Linked DNA regions of Homo sapiens: regions 2 and 3 are each linked to region 1. The links are contacts of gene promoters, found by promoter capture Hi-C in human tissues and cell types (Jung and others, 2019). All regions are on one chromosome and are shown on one strand. Each heading gives the region's core, a stretch centred on a gene start or on the middle of the fragment in contact. The rest is flanking DNA. Distances are from core to core; before and after follow the strand shown.

Region 1 (4,206 bases), core at 1,486-3,985:
GCCTTTTAAATGACTGGCTTCTTTCATTAAGTATAATGTTTTCAAGGTTTATCAATGTTGTAGCATGTATCAGTACTTTATTTCTTTTTACCACTGAATAATATTCCATTGTACCATGTGTTTTTCTCAGCATAGACAAAGATAGGATGCTGTTCCGCTGTATTCTCCATACCCAGACAAATTCAGTTTGTCATGTTTCTAGAAAAAGGTGACAGTAAGTAAATATTGGCTAAGCCTTACAAGGGTGGCAGCCGTGTTTACAAAGCGGCTTTTCATGAGTGACTTTATTCACTCAGTTCTTTTAGTCTAATTAGTATTTCTGACTCACAAACGGAAGTGATTCTATTTTGGCATTCTTTCTCTCTTTCTCCTGCTTGGTCTCTACTGACTTGCTGTGTTAAATTATGCAAGTTACTGAAACTCTGTTTGTTTAACTCCTGCGTGCTCTATAAAATAAGCCCAGTCCAGTCTGCTTGTTTGCCAAAGCTGTTTGAAGACAATTTTTCATATGATATGCATCATCAGCTCCCACAGAAGGCAAAAGGAATTTGATGTGTGGGGGTAGTCTGGGATCCTGTTCAAAATTAATGCTCATCTGGAAGAAATATGAAAGCCTGATACTTGCTTACTGGACTTTTAGTTGTATTCACTTATTGCTTTTCCTCTGAGAAACTTTGAAAATCTTTATCTCTTTTGTGGTTTTTTCTTTCCTTTTTTTTGAGACAGAGTCTTGCTCTGTCACCCAATCTGGAGTGCAGTGGTGCGATCTCAGCTCACTGCAACTGCTGCCTTCCTGGCTCAAGCGATTCTCCTGTCTCAGCCTCCTGAATAGCTGGGATTACAGGCGTATGCCACCATGTTCAGCTAATTTTTGTATTTTTAGTAGAGATGGGGTTTCGATATGTTGGCCAGGATGGTCTCAAACTCCTGACCTCAAGTCATCTGCCCGCCTTGGTCTCCCAAAATGCTGGGATTACAGGCATGAGCCACTGTGCCCATCCTCTGTGTGTGTGTGTGTGTGTGTGTGTGTGTGTGTGTGTGTGTGTGTGTGTTTTATATAAGATGAGATAAAGTTAAAAAAAAAAAGATTGTAGTAGAAAAAGTTTTTCTGATACTCTCTATTGGCCAACTGTGAACCAAAGAGAATAATCTGTCTGACCTAGCTTTGTGACCTGGGGAACGATTATCCATAACATTCAGAATTCTCTTTATTTTACCCTGAGATTGACCTCTCCAGACCCTAAGTTGGGATGTAAAATTCACCTGGATTTAAATTATCACTAATTTACTTATGCAATATGCTCTGTGCTGAGGAGAATGCAAAAAAAAAAAAAAAACCACAAATCCTTGTTTTCAAAGTGCTCACAGTCTAAAAGAGATGTGAGGAGCTGTGCATAAGGCAGAGGGAGCTAAGCCCCAAGAGAGGCAAAAATCTAGATGTTCAGGGAGCAGAAACCAGAGAAGACCTTTTTTTTTTTTTTTGTCTCAGATGGAGTCTTGCTCTGTAGGCAGGCTAGAGTGCAGTGGTGCTATCTTGGCTCACTGCAACCTCCGCTTCCCAGGTTCAAGCGATTCTCCTGCCTCAGCCTCCCGAGTAGCTGGGACTACAGTCGTGCACCACCACGCCCAGCTAATTTTTGTATTTTTAGTACAGACCAGGTTTCACCATGTTGGCCAGGATGGTCTCGATCTCTTGACCTCGTGATCTGCCCTCCTCGGCCTCCCAAAGTGCTGGAATTACAGGCATGAGCCACTGCGCCCGGCCCAGAGACGACATTTCTGCCAGGTGGAGCGACAGACATAGTTACATGGAGAAGATGATGATGATGATGATGATGATAATGATGATGATTTGAGACAGGATCTCGCCCAGTCGCCCAGGATCCAGTGCAGTGGCATGATCGCGGCTCACTGCAGCCTCCATCTCCTGTGTTTAAGCAATCCTCCAGCCTTAGCCTCCTGAGTAGCTGGGACTACAAGTGAGCGCCACCAAGCCCAGCTAATTTTTTTTTTTTGTGTGTATATATATATATATATATATATATTTTTTTTTTTTTTTTGGTAGAGACAGGGTTTCACCATGTTGCCCAGGCTCGTCTCGAACTCCTGGCCTCAAGTGATCCACCTGCCTCGGTCCCCCAAAGTACTGGGATTACAGGCGTGAGCCACTGCGCCCGGTGAGAAGATTATTCTGAGCTTTTTGAAGTGGAGACAGGAAATAGCATGTAAACGCTCCTAGTGCCACTTCCTTCGGGTGGCGAGGTGCACAGCAGTAGTCTCAGGTGTGTGAAGGGCAGCTGTGAGAAATAAACCTGAAAAGACGGGATGGAGACCTTGAACACTAGACTAGGGAATCTGTTCTTGATAATTTAAGCAAACGGAAGCCAATGAAAGTCTTTGGCACACTGTTCATCAAAACTGCTCTTAAGGAAATTAACCTGGCAGGAAGATGAAGGGTGGATTGGCAAGAGGAGAGACTTCAGACTGGGAGACCAAGGGAGGGTGCTGCAACAGTCCAGGCAGACGGAGTGGAATGAAGGTGACCGGCCGCTGCAGCAAGCTCTGGAGTCTCGCAGTTGGGACGTTAGGGGTACCACTCCAGGACAGAGCTCCCTCCTGGGGCAGGGACTGGGAGGAGCCAAAGTTATAGCCACACCCCCGGTGACGCCCGGTGGTCGGCTGTGGTCTCCCATTGGCTACACCGGCTGCCAGTCCCTGGAGGAGGCGGTGCCCTTCCCCGCCCTCTCCGAGCTCGGCTTGAGGCGGGCGCGGGCTGAGAGTCCGGGGATCCCGGGGGCCAGTCGCGGCCGGGACATCGGGCGCTGCGGCCGGGGACCCGCTGCTGAGATAGACAGGTGAGAAAGCCCGGGGACGAGGGGCCACTCCAGAGTTCCTGCCACCCTGGGATCCCCGCCCCCTTGAGGGCGCCCCGTCCAGGGGGGCTCGCGGGGCCGAGGTTTGGGGCGCCGGGAGGAGCGGGAAGGCGGGGACGAGAGGGACGGAGCGGGCTGACTCGGGATCCGCCGCTGCACCTCCCGCCACAGCCCAGAGTCGGCCCCCAAGTCTGGATGTCGCCGGGAGAGGTGGGCAGGGGGCGGTGGCCGGCGGTCCCTCGCGCCCGTGGGCTCCCGTGACGTTCTGTTTGGAAACACTGGGCCCGGGCTTCTGGCGCGGCGCGAGCGGTCCCGGGGGCGCAGCGGGGCAGCCCAGGGTCCCCGAGCCGAGGGACCCGCGCGGTCAGGGATGCCGCGCTCGCCTTAGGCTTCGGGAGATCCACCAGGATCTCCGGGGCGAAACTTTAAACTCAAAACTTTAAAGAAGCATTTTGTACACCTCGAGTTGCTGGCACGTCAAAGCACCCTAAGGTGACCTACCCGGAAACCACTGTCCCCGAAGTTAGTGGGGCACTTTTTAAAGGACAACACTTTTTACCCGTCGATATTGTTGTGCGTAACGCTGTGGAAATAGAAGTCGAACCACTTACATTGGAAAAGCTCTGGTGGTGGGCTACCTGAGGGTCACTGCTTTCTTTGTGAAAATGCCAGTCTTGGAAGCCTGGCCCGCACAGCGGTGTGTCCCAGAGGAGTATGTAGTGAGGAGCTCGGCTGTTCTGGGCAGGGTCACCGAAGGGCAGGCGTTGCCCAAGTGGGGCTAGGTGGCTAGGTGGTGGTCAGAAGGTTCCTTAAACAAGGCATGCCTCAGTCTCGTCGAGAAAGATCTTTTAACACACACACACACACACACACACACACACACACACACACTCACACACACGATTACCCAGCCCAGTTAAGCTGTCCCTTAAGAGGCAAAAACTAAAGAATATCATAGAGACTAACGCTGCGCTTCATCAGGGTAAGCCTAAGTAGAATAATTCTTTCATTTCTTTTTCTTTCCTTTTTGGGATTTGGAAGAGAAACAGGAAGTCAGAGATTCAGAGAAAAGAGCATTCACTCCACAATTGTAAACAGTTTATCTTATGTCAGTAAATACTTCCAAAAATCACTGGGGGTATTTGGAACTCCAAGACTTTTTCCTGTCCCCTGAAGTGAAGATAGATTATTTTCAAATGCAGAATCTAGACATGATAGATTCCTTTCAAATTCAGAATCTATATGTGGTATTTTCTTTATTTAGCAGTCGGCTATGTTATATAGTTATATATATATTCCCAATGTTATATAGTTCTATAACATTAGTGGTAAT
Region 2 (4,392 bases), core at 1,699-4,198, 48 kb before region 1:
TAAAAAAAACTATCTGGGTGTGGTGGTGCATGCCTGTAGTCCCAGCTACGTGGGAAGCTGAGGTGATACAAACACTTGAGCCCAGGAGGTTGAGGCTGCAGCGAGCTATGATCACACCACTGCACTACAGCCTGGGTGACACAGCAAGACCCCATCTCAAAAAAAATATAAAAGTGATAATATTAATGAAAAGGGATGAAAAGATCACATTCTGAGACTTTTAAATTTTTCTTTGTACAAAGATAATGTACAACTGCAAGTGTGCACACACAAATGCCAACATATAGCACTTGCCTATTTTCTTCCAGGATTTCAATTAAACTCTTCTGCAGAAAATGAAGCACTGAAACAAAAAGAATATGACAAATAAGAATTTAAAACTGTGAAGCTCAATTTCAATAAAATAAAATATTTTATATCACTGTTATCCAAAATGATATCATGATATGGAAACAAAAATTTAAAAGGAAGGGTCATGATGTACCTAAGTTATCTACAATGCTCTACCTATTACCAAGAAACTTAAAAGAGCCAGTTCCAAAATGACTCATACAAGCCATCAACTCATGGAACAAAATAAAATAATAGGACTTACCATTTTTAAGCAGATTATTAACACTTGCTCTACCTGTAGAGGAAAAAATGAACACTGGTAAGGAGTTTCACGACCAAAATCAATGTCATTTAAAAACTATGATGTGATGAGAGGGGTTAGCCAGAAAAAGGACTAGAAAAGTGCAGCCTTACCCAAGTTAAAGTTCTCCATACAGGAAGAAATATTGTCAGTAACTTTCCTGTAAGAGTATAAGTCAGTAGTATTCAATTCTTCCTGAAGACGAGAAGTAAAACGGTGCATAGCCTCAGGTAGAAAAAAATCAGGCAGGCTATTTAGTGAGCTAGAAAAAGAAACAAATATTAAAAATCTGACAATCTAATAGCCCCAGAATATGTGGAGAGGGAAGAGAATCATACAAATGTGGGAATACTGAACTAAATCTTCAAAATACAGCCAGAAAACTACAACTACACACTACCATCACTCGAATTTCCTGGCTTGTCAGCACATCTGGTCTCCCTGCTTCCACCTTGCTTCTCTCCCATCTCCCAGATTATTCTCAACAGAACAGGCAGAGTGACACCGTTAAAACACCATGTCACTTCTCTTACTAAAACCTCCAACAATATCCTTCTCGGTTAAAGTACTAGTTGAAGTGTTTACAGTGACCTACAAGGTCCTCCCGATACAATCTGGCACTACCATTAGCTCCTGACCTCATCTTTATTTATTTTTTTTCTTTTCTTGATTTTTAAAATGGCATCTATCACAATCCTGACCTCATCTTGATCTTTGTTCACTTAGCTCTAGCTACATGGCCTTGCTCTGTTCTGACATACCAGTCTTTGCTTCTGCTGTTTCCTCCATCCAAAATACTCTTCCTTCAAATATACCCAGCAATCACTGCCTCATCCCTTTCAGGTCAATCTCAATTACCTTATCATGTCTGAGCAAAGCTATATGAAGTGACCATAATATTTTAAATTGTAACCCTCACCCCATCCTTTATGTCCCCTTTCCTTCCTTCCCGCTTTTAGATAGCACTCATGCCATCTAATATCCTATAAATGTTACTTATTTATTTTGTCTATTTTCTATCTTCCCCTTAGAATGTAACCTCCATTCTGGACTGTTTCATTCATTCTACCCCCAGTTCCTAGAAGAGTGCTGAAACACAGTAGGCAGTCAATAAAAATTTATCAAATGAGTAAATTAAACATATCAATTTTGCCTCAATTTATATACATCAAAACTGATTGGCTTTGTTTTAAATATAACTGGACAGTTCAAAGTTTTTCTGGAAGAAAATAATTCAAAAATGGGAATATTCAGAATAAGAAGAGTCACTAGAGGGATGACTTAACACTGACATATAATTAAAACACTTTATCAAACTATAGTAAATAAAAGTGTGGTGTTGGTGTATGAATAATTGGACCTAACTCAGAAATCAAACCCATGTATATATGTGAACATATAACACAATAAGGTGGCATTCCAAATATGTGGGCAAAGATGGACGATTCAACAGTTTGGGTAAGTGGTTCCCCATATAAAAAAGAAAACTAAATTGAATCCCTACCTCACACTACATTCAAAGCTTAATTCCAGATGGACATAAAAGTTGAGCAAAAAAAAAAAAAATAGTATAAGGCCTGCAAATAATGTTTTAAATAATCTTGTATTACAGAAAGCACATATAGCAAGGTATAAAACTCAGAAATCTACATACACAAAAATTAGCTGAATTGATAACCAAAATAATATTTTAATTTTTGTAAAGACAAGACACCATGAGAAAGTTAAAGACAAGTAACAAAGGAATGTATTTGGCATATGATCTATAGAGAAGTCTTATAAATCAAGAAAACATTCTAACAAGAAAATGTACAAAGAATATGTAATAAAAAAAGTCAAATTCCACACATTAAAAAATGTTCAATTACACTAGTAATCTGGGATACACAAATTATAATGATAGCATTTTCCTTCATTAGATTTTAAAAGATTTAAAGATTGATAGTATCCAATGTTGGAAATATATGAAGAAGAAACAAGCATTCTAATTCAATGGGTAGTCTGGGGGAGTACAATTTAACAATATCTACCAAGAATTTCAATAGGCCTAATTTTTGGTCCAGAAATTCCACTTCTTGGAATTTATCTCAGAGAAATACACATATATAATTATATACATAAGAATATCACTGCAATGGGGAAGTGATTAAATTACTTTATACCATGTAATATAAATCATGTAATATGTACCATATATAGATACATACATGTCATATATATGGTACATTTAAATTTTGGTATATTCATATTACAGAATATTTATAGCTGAAAAAGTAAGGACTGCTGGTGGGAATGTAAAATGTTGCATATGGAAAACAGTATGACAGTTGCTCAAAAAATTACAAATAGTATTACCATATGGTCCAGCAATCCCACTTCTGGGTATATATCCAAAGAACTGAAAGCAGGATCTCAAATAGATATTTGCACACCCATGTTCATAGCAGCATTATTCACAACAGGCAAGCAGTGGAAGCAACCCAAATGTCCATTGAAAGATGCATGGATGAAAAAAATGCAGTATATGCATACAACAGAATATTAAGCCTTATAAGAGAAGAAAATCCTGTCATATGCTATAACAGGGATGAACCTTAAGGACATTATGTTAAGTGAAATAAGTCAGTCACAAAAATATAAATACAAATATTACACTAATATGAGGTATCTAAAGTAATCAAATTTATGAACGGAAAGTGGCTGCCAAGGGCTGAGCAGGAAATGGAGAGTTGTTACTTAATGTATACAGTTTCAGAGCTTAGCAGATGACAAGGTTCTAGAGATCATTGCACTGCAATATGAATACACTTAACAATAGCGAACTATGTACACTTAAAAATGGTTAAGACTCAAACATCATATGTTCTCACTCATAAGTGGAAGCTTATCTATGAGGATGCAAAGGCATAAGAATGATACAATGGCCTTTGGAGACTCAGGGGAAAGGGTGGGAAGGGGGTGAGAAATAAAAGACTACAAATTGTTGGGTACAGTATACACTGCTCAGGTGATGTGTGCACCAAAATCTCAGAAACCACCACTTATTCATGTAACCAAGTACCACCTGTTGCCCAAAAACCTATCGAAATGAAAATTAAAATTTAAAAAAAAAGAATTCATAAAAAAAAAAGGTTAAGACTGAGTTTTTATGTTATATGTCTTTTACTACAATTAGGATTTTATGACATGGAAATATCTCTAAGACATTCTTTAGTGAAAAAACAAGCTACAGAGCATTCTGTAGAGTATAATCTCGTTTACAGATATATATAAAAAAAGTAGAATGTAACACACATATGCTGACCTCAAAGAGAAGGTCTAGAAAGATAAATACCAAAACGGTAAGTGACAATCTTTACTAAGAAAAGTAAGATAAGCCCTAAACAATGAAATGGAAGCCTTAGTTTTTATTTTGTATAGTTCTATATCATTTGAAATTTTTATACCAAGCCTATATTCCTGTGTTATCTGTGTAAATATATATTTAAACCAAGAACAGATAGGACAAAAAGAGGAAAAAACAGCAAGATGACATTTAAACATAACCAATAAATGTAAATGGATTGAGGCAGGAGTAAGCAAACTACAGCCCACAGCCTGTTTATTAAGCATGTGACCTAAGAAGGCTTTTTATACTTTTAAAAAGTTGTAACTAGGCTGGGCGCAGTGGCTCACACCTGTAATCCCATCACTTTGGGAGGCTGAGAAGGCGGATCACAAGGTCAGGAGATCAAGACCATCCTGGCTATCATGGTGAA
Region 3 (4,070 bases), core at 1-2,500, 44 kb after region 1:
AAAAGAAAAAAAAGGCTTAAATACAAAATTATTTCTCCTAAGAAGTGCATATGAAATTCCTTATGCTTCCTCTAAGTTTGTCATGTTTCCTTCCTTCAACTTGAGTACTACCAAATCTTTTTCCTTTTTAATTTTTATTTTAGAAGGGTAAGGAGTCTGGCAACAAGGCTTTCCCCGTTGCTGCACTGCTGTTCTTTCCACTAATTTTGGAAGTTGCAGTGTCTGTTTGTTTAGTGGTTTGGCTTTCTGGCTGCTCAAAATTGAAGTCAAGTAAGCCTTCCGAAGGAAATTTATCACTTGTAAATCTTTCAGAAGGACCTCTATATGTGGCAGCCGTACAAAGTTTGTCATTCCAAGTTTCTCATTTTCTTGACACTACCAATTATATCTTTCTTGATTGTATTTGCTTGACTTATTTGATTTCTTGTTCCATAGCATAGTCACATCTTCCATTTGACAAGTAGAATTTCTGTTTCTGCCTGGTTGAAATTTATGTCCAGGGCCACTTTAGTTGCAATTATTTTTACTACATACACTGGATTTCTAGTTTCCGTTACTGTTGTTCATATGCCAACTGGAAAAGTCACCTGTTCCCTCAGAATGCCAACTGGAATTCCTTCCTGTACCATTATGATTCCAATCTACTGTTCCACTATTTGAATGCCAACCAACTCCAGAATTACTATGGTTGTGAAACCAAGTCAAGGAGCCTCCTGCAACACTCTAATGCCACTCAGAACATCCTTTTGGTCCACCACTATTCCTCAAAGAATACAGAAAGCTGTTTCTCCATGTATTATTAAAGCGATCTTTTTTCCAATTACAATCCTCCTGTGGAGGTCCAGGGTGATGCCATGCTGGCTGACTGTAACTCTGTCTGTGTTGGTGAGGAATTTGGTGTTCTCAGCTCCATTGGGGTCACCTGTCATCAGAATTTACTTCTTGGCTGCTACTGGAAGGTTCTTGTCGACTTTGTTCTTTCCTTTGTTTTATTAATTGAATGAGTTCCTTGTCAAAATAATCTTCTTCCTCTTCCTCTCCTTTTCCATCATCTTCTCTTTCCTGGGCATCAACGTTATCTTTGTGCAGCTGGCCAGAAATGTGCTTTGCGTATGCAGAAAGACTCACTTCTGTGGGCCCGCACCTTCGGCACTCATGACTAGTGCCTCTTTTTGGAGCTGTACACGATATGACACAATATGCATTTTTGTTCTCCTACCATAGTGACCAGATCTGAATCACTCAACCAAACGCTCTTACTCCATCAGGCCACTGAGGGCCAGGCAAGGGAGCTCCCTGATGCCCCAGACACCCCATTCAGTTTCGGGTCTGAGAGCCTACTCTGGACCCTCTCCCCACCAGGCCCCATCACCCTCAATTTTTATTTTAGATTCAGCAGATACATGAAAGTTTTAATTTTATAGGGTAGAGTAAGTGCCTAATAGATTTCTAAATAAGCCCAATGTAGCCTAATCTTTGATTTTTTTAATTATGCTTGAAAAGGAAATCTTACAACTTTATTAGGCAAGACTTTAAGCACATACAAGAGTAGAGAAAATAGTATAGTGAACCCGCATCACCCACTTCAACAATTAGTCAAGTCATGCCTCATCTGTACCTCCACCCACTTCCCCTGCCCCCCTCACACTGGACTATTGAAAAGCAAATCCCAGACATGGTATAATTTCATCCATTATTATATACTATACTAATCTGAAACCAAACACCCTTAAAAATCATAACCACAATACCATCATCACACCAAAAAATTACCAGTAATTCTTCAGTATATCAAAGATCTAGTCAGTATTCAGATTTTTCCAAATAGCTAATAATTGCTTCTGTGTTTTGTTCTTTAATCAAAGTGGAATTCACATAACATAAAATTAACTTTTTTTTTTGAGACAGTCTCACTCTGTCACCTGGGCTGGAGTGCAGTGGTGCCATCTCAGCTCACTGCCACCTCCACCTCCTGAGTTCAAGCGATTCTCCTGCCTCAGCCTCCCGAGTAGCTGGGACTATAGGCACCCACCACCACGCCTGGCTAATTTTTTGTATTTTTAGAGAGATGGGGTTTCACCATGTTGGCCAGGCTGGTCTCGAACTCCTGACCTTGTGATTTGCCCCCCTTGGCCTCCCAAAGTGCTGGGATTACAGGCATGAGCCACCGTGCCCAGCCAAAATTAACATTTTTAAATGAACATTTCAGTGTTGTGTACAATCATCACCTTTATCTAGTTCCAAAATGTCGAAAGGAAACTCATCTCAAAAGGAAACCTTATTCATTAAGCATTTAGTCCCATTTCCCCCTCCCACTAGCCCCTGGCAACCACCAATCTGCTTTCTGTTGCTATGGATTTACCTATTCTGGATATTTCATATAAATGGATTTATATACTATTTGATCTTTAGTGTCTGGCTTCTTTCATTTAGCAGAATGTTTTTGATATTTATCCACGTTGTAGCATGTGTCATGCTTTATTCCTCATTATGGCTGAATAATGTTCCATATATACACACACACACACACACACACAATTTGTTTATCCATTTGACTTTTTATGGACATTGTCTTTTTATGGACTTTCACTGCCCTCGATGTCTCCTGTGCCCTACCTATTCTACCTTTTCATCTTTTGACTATTGTGACTAGTGCTGTTAAGAACGTACATATATTTGTTTGAGTACCCCTTTTTAATTCTTTTATTTATATACCCTTTTTTTTTTTTTTTTTTTTGAGATGGAGTTTTGCTCTTGTTGCCCAGGCTGGAGTGCAATGGCACGATCTTGGCTCACCACAACCTCCGCCTCCCACGTTCAAGCCATTCTCCTGCCTCAGCCTCCCGAGTAGCTGGGATTACAGGCATCCACGCCTAGCTCATTTTGTATTTTTAGTAGAGATGGGATTTCTCTATGTTGGTCGGGCTGGTCTCAAACTCCTGATTTCAGGTGATCCGCCCACCTTGGCCTCCCAGAGTGCTGGTGTTACAGGTGTGAGCCACCTCGCCCGGCCCTCTTTTTTTTTGTTTTTAATAGTTAGTTTGTTCAAATTGGGATCTAAACTAGATTGATACATTTCATTTGATTCTTAAACTCTTTTAATTTATAGGGTCTTTTTTCCTTTTTTCTTTCAACTTATTTGTATGGGTTAATTTGTTCTCTAAAGCTTTCCACATTCTGGAGTTTGCCTATTGCATACCTATGATGTGATTTAACAAGCTCCTCTTCCCCTATATTTCCTGTAAAATATAGTTAGATCTAAAAATTTGACTTTTCTTTCTCTTTTTTCAAGACTACTTCTTGGGTGATATTGTTGACCTCCACCAGGAGGTGGATGTCTAGTTATCTCTCTCTCTCTCTTTTTTTTTTGGTGATATTAGCAGCCATTGATTACCTTGTTTAAATCAATGATTTCATCAGGGAGGTTATTGCTTTTTTAAAAACAGACTTTAATTTTTAGAGCAGTTTCAGATTTACAGCAAAATTGATGGTGTATGAAGTACAGAGCTTTCATATATCCTCTCCCCTCCAACACACATTCAAGCTTTCTTCACCATCAGCATCCAACACCAGAGTGGTACATTTATTACAACTGATGAACCAACACTGACACATCATTGTTACCCAAATCCCATAGTTTACATTAGTGTTTACTCTTGGTGTTTTATGTTCTATGGATTTTGACAAATGTATAATGCTGTGTATCCTCTTCTATAGTATCATATAGGATATGATACTATACTCCCCTTCCTTTTCCTTCTTTTCTCCTTCCCTTCTTTTCCCCTTCCTTTCCCTTCCCTTCTTTTTCCTTCATTGTCTTGTGTTTTCTGACTTTGGCCTTCCTAGTAGCATCTTTCTTTACCTCTGTACCCTGGCTGTGTCTATATGTCTCTATATGTAATCTATCTGTTCTTCCCTATCTTTCCCTTCCCTTCCTTTCTCTCCTTTAACTGCCCATATTATGGGAAAAAGAGAAAAAAATTGAGGATGGTTTTGTTTTGCCTTAATTTAAAATTCTTAATTCATAATATGTGGCAAATTTGTTTGTTTTTGAAAATTAAACTAAATTA

The links. The method cuts DNA at HindIII sites, captures the fragments that hold promoters and counts their contacts. A contact is called where the count stands out against the background at its distance.
Region 2: a contact is called between a fragment that was not itself captured here and the fragment with the promoter of PLEKHH2 in region 1, in 1 of the 25 tissues and cell types used here (aorta).
Region 3: a fragment that was not itself captured here is called in contact with the fragment with the promoter of PLEKHH2 in region 1 in 1 of the 25 tissues and cell types used here (liver).

Annotation. Positions count from the first base shown.
Region 1 is chr2:43,634,525-43,638,730 of GRCh38, forward strand. It overlaps PLEKHH2 (pleckstrin homology, MyTH4 and FERM domain containing H2), which reads left to right and starts at 2,736. Exons shown (of 30, transcript NM_172069.4): 1 at 2,736-2,855. RefSeq lists a silencer at 2,640-2,969. The HindIII fragment of the contact is 17,439 bases long and covers 1-4,206 here.
Region 2 is chr2:43,586,107-43,590,498 of GRCh38, forward strand. It overlaps THADA (THADA armadillo repeat containing), which reads right to left. Exons shown (of 38, transcript NM_022065.5): 5 at 748-896; 6 at 596-628; 7 at 295-343. Among named protein-coding and RNA genes, the nearest start is that of THADA, 7.7 kb to the right of the region's middle. The HindIII fragment of the contact is 4,219 bases long and covers 840-4,392 here.
Region 3 is chr2:43,680,426-43,684,495 of GRCh38, forward strand. All of the region lies in intron 3 of PLEKHH2 (pleckstrin homology, MyTH4 and FERM domain containing H2), which reads left to right. It also overlaps the pseudogene LOC100421122. Among named protein-coding and RNA genes, the nearest start is that of C1GALT1C1L, 6.0 kb to the left of the region's middle. The HindIII fragment of the contact is 4,210 bases long and covers 1-3,355 here.